Linked DNA regions of Homo sapiens: region 1 is linked to region 2. The links are contacts of gene promoters, found by promoter capture Hi-C in blood cells and fetal thymus (Javierre and others, 2016). All regions are on one chromosome and are shown on one strand. The core of a region is centred on a gene start or on the middle of the fragment in contact, and the rest is flanking DNA. Distances in the headings are between cores, read along the strand shown. Region 1 overlaps LINC00554 (long intergenic non-protein coding RNA 554). Region 2 holds the start of PCCA-AS1 (PCCA antisense RNA 1).

Region 1 (5,651 bases), core at 2,479-4,978, 490 kb before region 2:
CAGCTTTCTCGGGCCTCCCGCCTCCTTGTATTTTCCTGTGAAATACCCAGGCGAAAGAGACCCGTGACAACTTGACTTTCTCCTCTTCGAGAGGCCCGTGTGAGCTCGAGAGCCCACAGCCCGTGTTTCCAGTGTGACTCTGTTTACTAATTATGGAAATATAGGGATCCTATAAAATAAATTGTTTCAATATGGCTTTGGCGAGTCTGCTTCTTGACTTCTTCACCCTTATTGTTTCAAAGACTTCGTGTGTCCTTGGCCTTTAAACTTCCTCTTGACAATTTCATCTTTTCTCCCGCCACGGAGCTCCTTTCTACTCCAAACGGTGCATTTTTTCCCCAAATGTTCACGTTTCTCAAGTCTCCAGGACTTGGCACTGGCTTTGCCAACCGCAGTGTCTAAGTATTTCAACCTAGCAGTGAATTCTTAGGCAAGCTAATTTACCACGTTACACAAATTTTGTGGTTTCTTTGGTACCTACAAGCAACATTGTAATATGAGACAGGAATCTAAAAGAATTGTCAGAAAGATTTCTGCCTCCATTCTTGATATGCATTTGATAACTTACGTATAATCACTTTTATAAAAATAAAGCCATTCTTGAGTGAGCTTTTTCTTGAAACTGCATTAAGTCGACTGTAAATTCTATAAAGCAGTTTTGGCTGTGTGATCAGGAGAGAAATATATAAGCCCATTTTTGTGACAGACTAGGTAGAAATGCGTTGAAACCCAAGCCAGAAAAAAAAAATCAGTTGTGCTAGAGAAATTTCCATTATTCTGATCCTTAAAGTTTTGAACAAAATAAGCCTGTATTTCACTTCATTGTCAATAGGTCCCAGCATTGAAATCTCCTGAGGATTCTGTTTCACTTACACTTTTCAGTCCAAACTTTTTTTTCTTTGCACAATGATTTATTATGTAGGTAATTTTAGGGGATGCAGTTTACAGCTTGAATTATTAGACTGAACACCTCTGGCTGACACCACGACGCCTTTTTTTTTTCTGCCTGCAGCTGTGAGTCACAACCCCATTTTCATACCCAACCGCTGCACATTCCTTCACAATGTATACTTCCTTCTTGCAAAGATCAAACATGCTTTGGTCAAAGTGTTTATTTTAAAATACAGGAAAATTAAAACTAAACACAGCTCTACTGAAAAATCCCCAAATGTATCATATTTTCCTCCTCCTGTGCCCACAAAAAAATTAACAAATTGCACCACTTTCTGGGGTAAAAAAAATGAATTGAAGGAGAACACACAGACACATAGAGACATAGTGTTCATTTTAGTGTTGAAACACACCAGAAAACTTCCCACTTCCATTCATATTTGGATTCCTGTTTGGATGTCTAGTTTTTACTATAAAAAATATCACAAACCAAACAACAACAACAATGTATCATTAAAAAGATGCTGACAGTTATGTATTTTATTCACCAACCTACACACTCCTCATTCCTACTTCATTTTTCCCCTCCTAGTGTTTTTCTTGTAATTATATCTTTCAGATTGTAACTTTCAGGGGAGAAGTATATTTTGAAATATTTTCTAAATAGAAAACAAAAGGTCTCAGTAACTCAGAAATAAGTTAACAATTCCTAAGCATCTCTGTGGGTCTTTGGCATGTGTGTGTGTTTTCTTTTTCCTTTCAAATTAAGATGAAAAAATTATAAGGGAGAATCACTCCATCTCAGCACCTAAATCCTGTAAAGTGGACTTTAACTGCAGATTTTGGTGGACAAGCTGCCCTTCTGCAGCACACTCTCTAACTGCATATTTCAGCTTCTCGATGCTCCCACTTGAAAGAGACATAGACCTCAGCCACCTCCTCTCTGAGGCAATTTACTCAGCTTCTCCAATCACACAGTTCTTTAACGGGGCAGAAATTGTTGGGTTGTTTTTAATCAAGTTTGGAAGCTGAATCTCTTTCCCCTGATGACTGTGCCCAGGGGTGGATCCGGCTGAATGTCTGGCGCTGCGGGCAGCGGGCTTGGCCACCCGTTTTTCAGACACAACACCAGAGAATGGCACTGAAATAATCGCGTGTAGCAGAAATGTTTAAAAACATTAACCTCTCTTATTTTCTATACTTGTGAATTAAAAGGCAAAAGAAGCTGAAAGGAAATCTGAAATGATACTCATTTACCTACTGAAGGCAGACCAAGAAACTGTAAAGATGCTTGATGCTTTGAAAATGTACTCTGTAAAATCTTTCAAATTAGATGCTGCTTAAGATCAATGGCAGTAAAAATATTTTTATGGTTTGATTGGTTAAAACATTTTTAGATATTAGTGATGATAAATTAACAGATCAGAAGTTTCTTTCTAGGAACAATTTGGGAGGGATATAGAAAGTAATCTAGTAATCTAATAATACTCTTCCTATTGTTTAAAGGGAGACAAATTATAGTACATACTATGTGGACTTTTTTAAACTTTAGATCAATAAAAATATTTGGCTTTCATATACTATTGAAAATTCTTTGCGAAAGTGGAGAATCAAGGATTTTAAAGACCAAGAACAAAACAAAGAATCAGATTACAGTCTTCCTCTAAAATACACTTCTTCCTTTGCTGGGTTTTCAAATGATATCATTGGTGATTCTTTGTTTATTTGAACAATCTCTTGAAATTAAAATGGATTGAATATTTCCCTCTAGGTAGTTCAACTTCAGACACACAAATATTTCTAAAAGTTCTAAATGTAAATCAAAGACTTTATAAAGCTTCAGCAACAACATTTCATATCATGGCAAAACCAATTTTATTGTGACATTCCTCTCATATCTGGCAGATTATCAGACACATCAAAAATTCTCACCTTGAAAATGCACTCTTCCAAAAATCATATACATTGGAGAAACTAATTTTTATAATGTGTAATTTGTGGTTTATTATCTCATTTCTGTTTTTAAATCCAAGTGAATTAATTTAAAAAGTAAATTTGGATTAGAGGGGAGACATTAGTGAAAAGTCTTATGTATTAATCAAATTCTTCTCAACTACCTCCAGTATGCACACACATCATTCACACACACCCTTCTTGAGAAGAAAAAAAATGTTCCAGCTGAAGAGAACAGTCATATCAGCCATTTGGCTTCAAATGCCTTATACAAAAGTTTAAAATAGCTATTTTGTAATATGGCAAAACTATCGTTTAATGTTTCAGGGTAACATTTTTCTAAATCTTCATGTGATAATTTACTTATTCAAAAATGTAACAAATGATTGACTTTATTGGGCAAAATATTGCTCTACATATTTGTTAAAGTAGATATCTCACATAGGGTGCCATTGTAACTTATGTAAGTCTCTTTTCCGTACAATTGTGTTCACTTGTAGGTAATCTACTATTCTCTTGTGCCTCCAACATTGTTGCACTTGAAAGTTGAATGTTGAGGACTCAAGGTTGGAAACCAAATCGAGTGCCTTGTGTGGAAGCAAAAGATGTTTTCCTCTGACAGATGCTACTTTGGGTGTCTTTTCTGCTAAGCAGATCTCCGCGTTAAATTAGCCTAATCATTTGCCTCTCTGTTTTTTCTAAAGGTCTGTGGTCCAAGTAGCAGTCATTCCTGCAATAGACGATAGGTTCTGTTCGGTAGCGGGAATGTCCTGTTTCTTTGCTTTAAGTTTCACTTTGTGATTAAAATGCAATAAAATAAGTCTGGAAAATCATTTTTAAGAGAACACTTTCAAGAAGCACTTCCTTTCCTAGTGCCAGACAACGGTGCTCCCCAACCACTTGGCTGGAACGCTTGCTTTCGATTTGTTTGTTTCGCGCATTTCCCTAAAGAGCCGGGCTCTTTGCGCTGTTTTAATTCTGCTTTAAAAATGCATCGCTTCTGCCCTGAATCCTTCTCTGAAACAAATTCCTATCGAAAGTGTATCAGATTCGTTCCAAATATGGGATATGGATCAATATTCCCATGCTACAAATATTTTTTAAATTGTTTTTGTCGTAGGAGTCCACACTTTTGCAATATATTTTTAATTGAAGTAGGGTTGCCTGTTATTTCTCATGATACACAAAAAAGTAGCAATTACCGTCTGCTTAGTCCTTCCTTTATTATTATTTTTAGCCCGTGTATCATTACCTAACTGGTATGCGTTCTTCTGCCCAGCTCCTGATGATCTAGTTGAATTCTAGACATTGTGCCAAGAAGTGTATTTGAAGCAGATAAGTACGTATAATACAAATGCGTCTTGTTAGACCTGATGGATGCTATTTTTCTTTTAATAGGTTTGTAGCAAACTAACACAATAACACAATGTATTCCTTTTCAAGATACATTGTTGAAACAGGTCTATTAAGAGCGCGTTGAGCTATTTCTCGCTTCCATTGAACAGTCTGTTGCTCAAACACAACAGCCAACAAACGCCAGCTGCCTCAACAAAAGTAGAAACCTAACCCTTTTATGTAATGTTTTAACAGAAAGGGTAGCTCTGTTTAATTAAAAACATTGATGATTCAGTGAAACAATAGAAACTCAAGTTCAAGTGGTGCTCTATTGATTTAAGATGATTTTTTACTAGCAATGGGTATAATTCATTTTTTTTCCAGTTCTCTCTTGTGTAAAGGGGTTCCTTCTGGGGGCATTATTTGGGTGAATAGGAAAAGACAGAGATGGCTATTGCCTTAGAAACCTGATTAACGTATATTGCTTTGAGGGTAAGGTGTTTAATTTATAAGTGCACCCCATATTTTTTGTCAGTTTATTCGCGGTGGGGAAGCTTTGAAAGTAGCTCCTCTCAGCAGGTTAAAAAGTGAAGTCTGCGTCCTGGCATTTAAATGTCTTTGTTATTGTGTCAGGCAAGTTGTTGAAAACTGCATGCCCGGAATATTAAGGTTGGGCGGCTAGAGGAGGCAAGTTGTGTGTGTGTGTGTGTGTGTGTGTGTGTGTGTGTGTGTGCGCGCGCGCGCCCCTGGGCGCAGGGCTGTGTGTGCGAGGACAATTATTTTCATCAGCTGCTTGCTAGCCCGCGCCCGACTGCTCCTCTTTGCAGAACCGACGGGCTTTCAACTCTGGAAGTGAAGCAGGACGAATTCCTCCATGGAGACTCCCTCCTTGGGAACGTCGAACTCTCTCTGCCTTGGGGAGTGGGGCTCGATAAAGGGTACCTAGGTCGCACCCTGGCAGGGGAGCACTAGAGGGCCGCGAGGTCCCGGGTTTCGCCATCCTGAGACCCCCGCGCGGATGGCCCAGGAGGGGCGCGGCGGCCCTGAGTCAAGGTGGGCGGGGGCAGGTGCTTCCCTCCACCGCGTTGTCCTATGCCGGCGCGGTCCCCACCGCCCGACCTAGCCCGGCGCCGGCCGAGCACGGCGGCCGCGCTTCGCACTCCTTCCTCCCACCGGGTCCGCAGGCCCGGCTTCACGATTCCCGGGCCCTCGGGCATGTGAGGGACTTGAGTGAATGCAGCTCCCTCAACTCACTCCCGCAAAACCACAGCCAAGAGGGCCTTAAGTCAGAGAACCCGGCCTAGGAGCCTCCCCTAGAGCCTCGGCGCGGGCCCCTTCCCCTTCCCCACATCGGTCGGCCGAGGGAGCCTAGAGCCGGTGGGAGACGGGCAGCGGCCTCTCCTGATCCTTTCCTGCGGTCATACAAGTTCCTAGGGTGGGCCGAGGACAGAGCGCCTCAGGCATCGTCGGCT
Region 2 (5,295 bases), core at 92-2,591:
TCAAGAGCAGCGGAGTCATAAGAAAATGCACATTTAAGTGGCCCCATGCAGTTCAAATCCATGTTGCTCAAGGCTCAACTGTACACCGAACTGAAAAATGATTCCATTTTTAGTAGGAAATGGCCTACTCTAAGTCCTACTGCTTCCCTTTGCACTTGATGGCAAGGGTCTTTAACTGTGTCAGTGGAGCTGGTTTGGCTCCACTGATAGAGACTCCCTGACCATCTGATAGGCCACTTTTGTTAGAGGAGAAGGTACCCCCTTGCCTACCTGTTCTTTTCTTACTTCATGGGTCTTGATTCCTGACTCAGGAGCACCCATTACAGAAAAGCCCTGGGACTAGATCTAATTTTATTTAATGAAAAACCTATGGAGCATTTACTCTTGCTTCTAATAAATTAACAAGTCAGGGCTTTCTTCTGAATAGGAGGGTCTCTTGACTCTTTGATATTTGACTTTTGAACCAGACTAGATGAGGCAGAGCTTCAGCACATATTTTACCAGTGTCTTCAGCAAATGCCTTTCTCTTTGCAAAGCTCCATATTACTACCAAAAATTAACCCAACTAAATTGTAATTTCTACTCACCCACATTTATTGAGTACTGTGTTTCCTTGAAAGATCTCAAACAAGGCACCTTCTTGCAAGATCTTCACCACCAGACCTTCATGATAGTCACCTCCTCATTAGGCTGAGACGCATACACAGTGATTACGTTCAGACACAGGGACTCCTGTGTCTTAAGACCTTGTGTGACCCTTGTAATTAAAGCATTACACTTTGCAAAGGCTGACAGTGGTATAGGGGCTGTCTGAAACTATTCAGCCATAGCCTGGTCTCTGCTTTCTTTTTACAAATGGGAGGTTGGCTAAGGCAGACACAGGGATGGCTAAGAGGGATAAAGGACGTGACTTCCATAGAACCTTTTGTTCCTAGAGGAACCTCTCCATGAAACACACAGTGAAACTAGATTAAACCAAAAAACGCCCTCAGCTCCAGCAGATCCTGAGCTACAAAGCACCTCTTCCCTACCGAGCCTTCTCACCCATGCGCACTGAGTTTCTGAGTATCAGAAAGTCAGGTTTCTGAATCCCTAGAGAAAGTAAAAATTTCCTTGGACACAATGGGTTTTCTTTGCTTCCTGCATGACAGTCACGAAGGGGAATCTGAAATAGAGAACTTGAATATGCGGCTTGCTGAAGGGAAGTGTACTGTACAGTAGCCCCCCTTCTCCACGGGGGATCCATGTCAAAATCCCCAGGGGATGCCTAAGACTGCGGATGGGACCGAACCCTGTATACGCTTGCCTTTAATGCCTTTTCCATTTCAGCTCGGCACTTAGCCCACACTGTGGCTGTAACTTTTGTAGTTTTAGGTACAGCAGCAAAACTAGCACAAATTTCTTTGTCCTTTTTCACAATTTCATGGATAGAAGATTGATTCTTACTGTAGATCTTAGCAATCTCAGCATACTTTTTTTTTTCTTGAGAACTTTCACCTTTTAACTAAAGGAAGGACTTCATGGCTGGTTTTTGGCATATCCAGATTGCCAGCATCATACTCTTGGAACTTTGAGGCCATTGTGAAGTCAAATAATAGTTCCTGCCAGGCACAGTGGCTCACACCTGTAATCCCAGCATTTTGGGAGTCCAAGGCAGGTGGATCACTTGAGCTCGGGAGTTTGAGACTAGCCTGGGCAACATGGCAAAACTCTGCCTCTACAAAAAACACAAAAATTCACCGGTCACGGTGGCACATACCTGTAGTCCCAGCTACTCGGCAGGCTGAGGTGGGAGCATGGCTTAAGCCCAGGAGGTGGAGGTTACAGCGAGCCAAGATCATGCCACTGCACTCCAGCCTGGGCGACAGAGCCAGCCTCTGTCTCAAAAATAAAAAAGGAACCTAAGCACTGAGACCCCCTGACAGTAGATCTGGTAACTGAGATGGCCACTAAGTGACTGGTTGGTGGTGGGGGTGTCTACAGCGTGGAGATGCTGGACCCCGAGAGAGAGGGTTTATGACCCAGGCAGGATGGAGCAGGACAGCACAAGATCTCCTCACACTACTCAGAATGACTCACAATTTAAAACTTATACATTGTTTATTTCTGGAATTTTCCATATAATGTTTCTGGACCATGGTTGACCACAGGTAAATGAAACCTTGGAAAGCTAAAACCTTGGATAAGGGGGGACTACTGTAATATAAAGTTTACAGTTCCTGGGGTGAAAGCTCAGGCAGACCCTATCTATGCATTATTACAACGTACCATCAATTCAAAACCATAAATTTGCAGAAACATCGTTGCTTTAATTCCTAAAATATTGAATATGAATAATAAAAATAATATATGCTTTGTCTTAGAAGCACCTTTTTAATATGATTGATGTGTATTGATCTGTTTCTTCATTCTAACATGAACATTTCTGTAACAGTCATTTCCCCTGAAATATCTAACCTGTGGGTACCTGAGACAGCTTGTCAGTTAGGAAGAACAGTGGTGGCGATAGCCACGTAGGGCTGGTTTGGTCGTGAGTGCAAGTGTGGTTGCAGCAGCTAGAGCAGAGGACTGTGTGGAGAACATGGGTCAGGTCAGAAGGCAGTAGCCAGGAGGGATGCAGAGTCGAGAGAGAATTTGTTGATTGGAATGACTCAGGTTGACTTTCAGGATGAAGAGAAGGGGCCAATAGAGAGGGAAGAGAGGACAGTTGATGAGGCAGGCTCCAAGAGAGGAGGGCAAAGCGAGATCAGGGGCTCCAGTGAAATGCCTGAGTGTGATGAGAAGAGCGCTGTCTTGTGAGGCTAGAGAGGGAACCAAGGATGGGTGGGCCTGGGAAGGCTGGAGAGGTAGCCTGTCAGGGAGCTGCTAACCCACTTAGAAATACTCTTATTGACATAACAAGGTTTTTTGTTTTGGTTTTTTGTTTGTTTGTTTTGAGAGAGCGTTCGCTCGTTCCCCAAGCTGAAATGCAATGGTGCAGTCTCAGCTCACTGAAACCTCCACCTCCTGGGTTCAAGCGATTCTCCTGCCTCAGCCTCCCGAGTTGCTGGGATTACAGGTGCATGCCACGGGTGCAGTGGCTCACGCCTGTAATCCCAGCACTTTGGGAGGTCGGGGCGGGCGGATCATTTGAGGTCAGGAGTTCAAGACCAGCCTGGCTAACATGGATATAACAAAATTTTCTATTTCAAAAGTTCAGTCGTGGGCACAAGTTGATTTTGCCTTACAGTCTTGATAGTGAAGGTGCATACTATTTTTAAAGCTGTATTCCTTAGATACTACCATATTATCTAATGTTTCTAATAATGGAATTAGCAAAAAATGACTACATCATCCAAATTTGACTTTGTACTAACATACTTGGCGTACTCCATATCCCTGAAGGTTAACAAGAGATAAATTTGGCCTAGACTGGTCTTTTCCTGAATTCATCACTTAAAAAAGGAAAAAAAGAATGGGGAGGAAAAGCCACGTTTTACTTTTATAATTTTTATTCCATCATTAAAAGTACAACTTGCTTTATGATCTGAAGAAATACCATCTAAGTCTTTCTATTAGGAACAAAAGTGAGCCTTTCAGGGAAAAAAAAAAAAGGAGCTGGGCTTAATCTGCATTAGCCCTTTGATGTATTCCCAGATTTTAAAAAGCTTCCCACTGTTCTCAGCCACGTTGAAACAGACCCAGCCATGTGTCCGGCGCTGTCCTTTTCTCCTCTCAGCACACACTTAGCCGGAGACACCTTTTGGCCAATGGGCCAGGATTCTTCCATTGCATCTTCAGCATGTGACCGTTTGTGCTGGCTCATTGGGAGTTCTGCTGCTCAGTACTCCTTCCCCAGGCAAAGACTCTTAAGTTAATAATTGGTTCAGAAGAATAAACTATACCGCCCTCTTGGTCTTCTTTTGGACATTTCTTTAAGATGAGGCTCTTACTGGTATATCTGGGGTACTTTATTGAGAAATAGAAAGTGCTAGCTGAAATAAGGCGTATCAGTCTAGAGTTAGGAAGTGAGAAATGCAATCGGTAAATTTTGCTTTTAAATAAAAATGGAAGCCCCATTTTAATTGTTGCCATTTCTAGTCATTTTATCATTTTTAACAGCCTGGTTTTCTATTTTAGAGAAGTTGCTGACCAATATTTAGAGAGCACCTCCCTAATCTGCACATCCTCTTGTGTGTGATGGTGAAGTGATGGGTTGGAATCGTTTTTAATGCTGTTTCCATTGATGGGACATTATTACCAGAAGGAGTGCTTTGTGCCAGCTGGTTTCATGGATGGAGGAAAACAATCTGGGTTTCAGTTTCACAAATAGAAAAACAAAACCTGAGAGGAAAAGGAAGTAATTCGTTAGCAGTGGCCACTGTGCAGAGTAGGATAACCTGCCTTCAAAGATTTTTGTTTCATGCACTATAATATAATGTTTAATAAATACTTTACTTCAAAGAACCTCACTACAAGAAAACTGGCCGCTTTCCTGCTATTCTTGTTCTCCGGCTCAGTATGACTATAAGTAGCTCATATCCGGTCCTCTGTGGTCTCAGGTGGTCGTTTGTGTTTATGATCCTTAAGCTGAAACTGTAAGGACTGTGTCCCTATTTTAAGTCTTTAGCAGATCCACCGTGTTCTGCAGGAATTGACAGAGGCTCTCGTGAAACCCTTGACACTTTGACCCATCTTGAGGAAAATGCTTAGATGCTAAAAGCAGTGTGCATAGGGATTACGTCCTCCAAAAATAGAAAACTCTAAATTTACTAAGCAGGGAGTAGAGAAACTCATCAGACTGCACCTCAAGTTTTTGATGTGTTCTGGTCGCCTCTGCACTCCCATTCTAGACTTCTAAACAACACGTTCAGGATCTCTGAGATAAAAGCTGGACTGAAGTTACAGAAAGAGCATTAGAGATGTTTGAATTTTTCTTTTTTCCCCCCTGTAGATATATTTGGCATATGTAGAATTTGAGAGTCCACTATTGATACCAGTTTCTTCCAGATATTAACACATATCAAATAGACAGCTAGAACTCAGAAGAAACTAATGGAGCTCTGAAAGAAACCATTGTTTTTTCCACTATAAATCTTAACTCAACAGCATTTAGGGTCTGGGTGGAGCCAGTCACCTGGGCAGCTGCTTCACACCCATTTTGAATTAGCTGCCCAGTGCTTCTGGTGAGCACCTCGGTAGGAGCCACTGCTGTGAACTCTTTTGCAAGTTCTGGTGGTGACTGGTTTGGTTTTTATTGCTCCCTGTTTGATGCACTGATAGGACCTAGGGCTGTTCTTAGAAATATAGGCCTGA

What was found. Contacts are between HindIII fragments. The CHiCAGO score rates a contact against its expected background, and 5 or more counts as called.
Region 1: a contact is called between a fragment that was not itself captured here and the fragment with the promoter of PCCA-AS1 in region 2, in 1 of 17 cell types (M0 macrophages). The highest score is 5.9, in M0 macrophages.

What each region holds. Positions count from the first base shown.
Region 1 is chr13:99,992,157-99,997,807 of GRCh38, forward strand. LINC00554 (long intergenic non-protein coding RNA 554) reads right to left here. Exons shown (of 1, transcript NR_047483.1): 1 at 2,743-5,651. Among named protein-coding and RNA genes, the nearest start is that of LINC00554, 2.9 kb to the right of the region's middle. RefSeq lists an enhancer at 5,364-5,651. The HindIII fragment of the contact is 2,005 bases long and covers 2,727-4,731 here.
Region 2 is chr13:100,479,674-100,484,968 of GRCh38, forward strand. PCCA-AS1 (PCCA antisense RNA 1) reads right to left here and starts at 1,342. Exons shown (of 5, transcript NR_047686.1): 1 at 1,307-1,342. All of the region lies in intron 21 of PCCA (propionyl-CoA carboxylase subunit alpha), which reads left to right. It overlaps LOC107984574 (a long non-coding RNA gene), which reads right to left and starts at 1,534. Exons shown (of 3, transcript XR_007063850.1): 1 at 1,447-1,534; 2 at 588-757; 3 at 1-90. The HindIII fragment of the contact is 6,979 bases long and covers 1-3,645 here.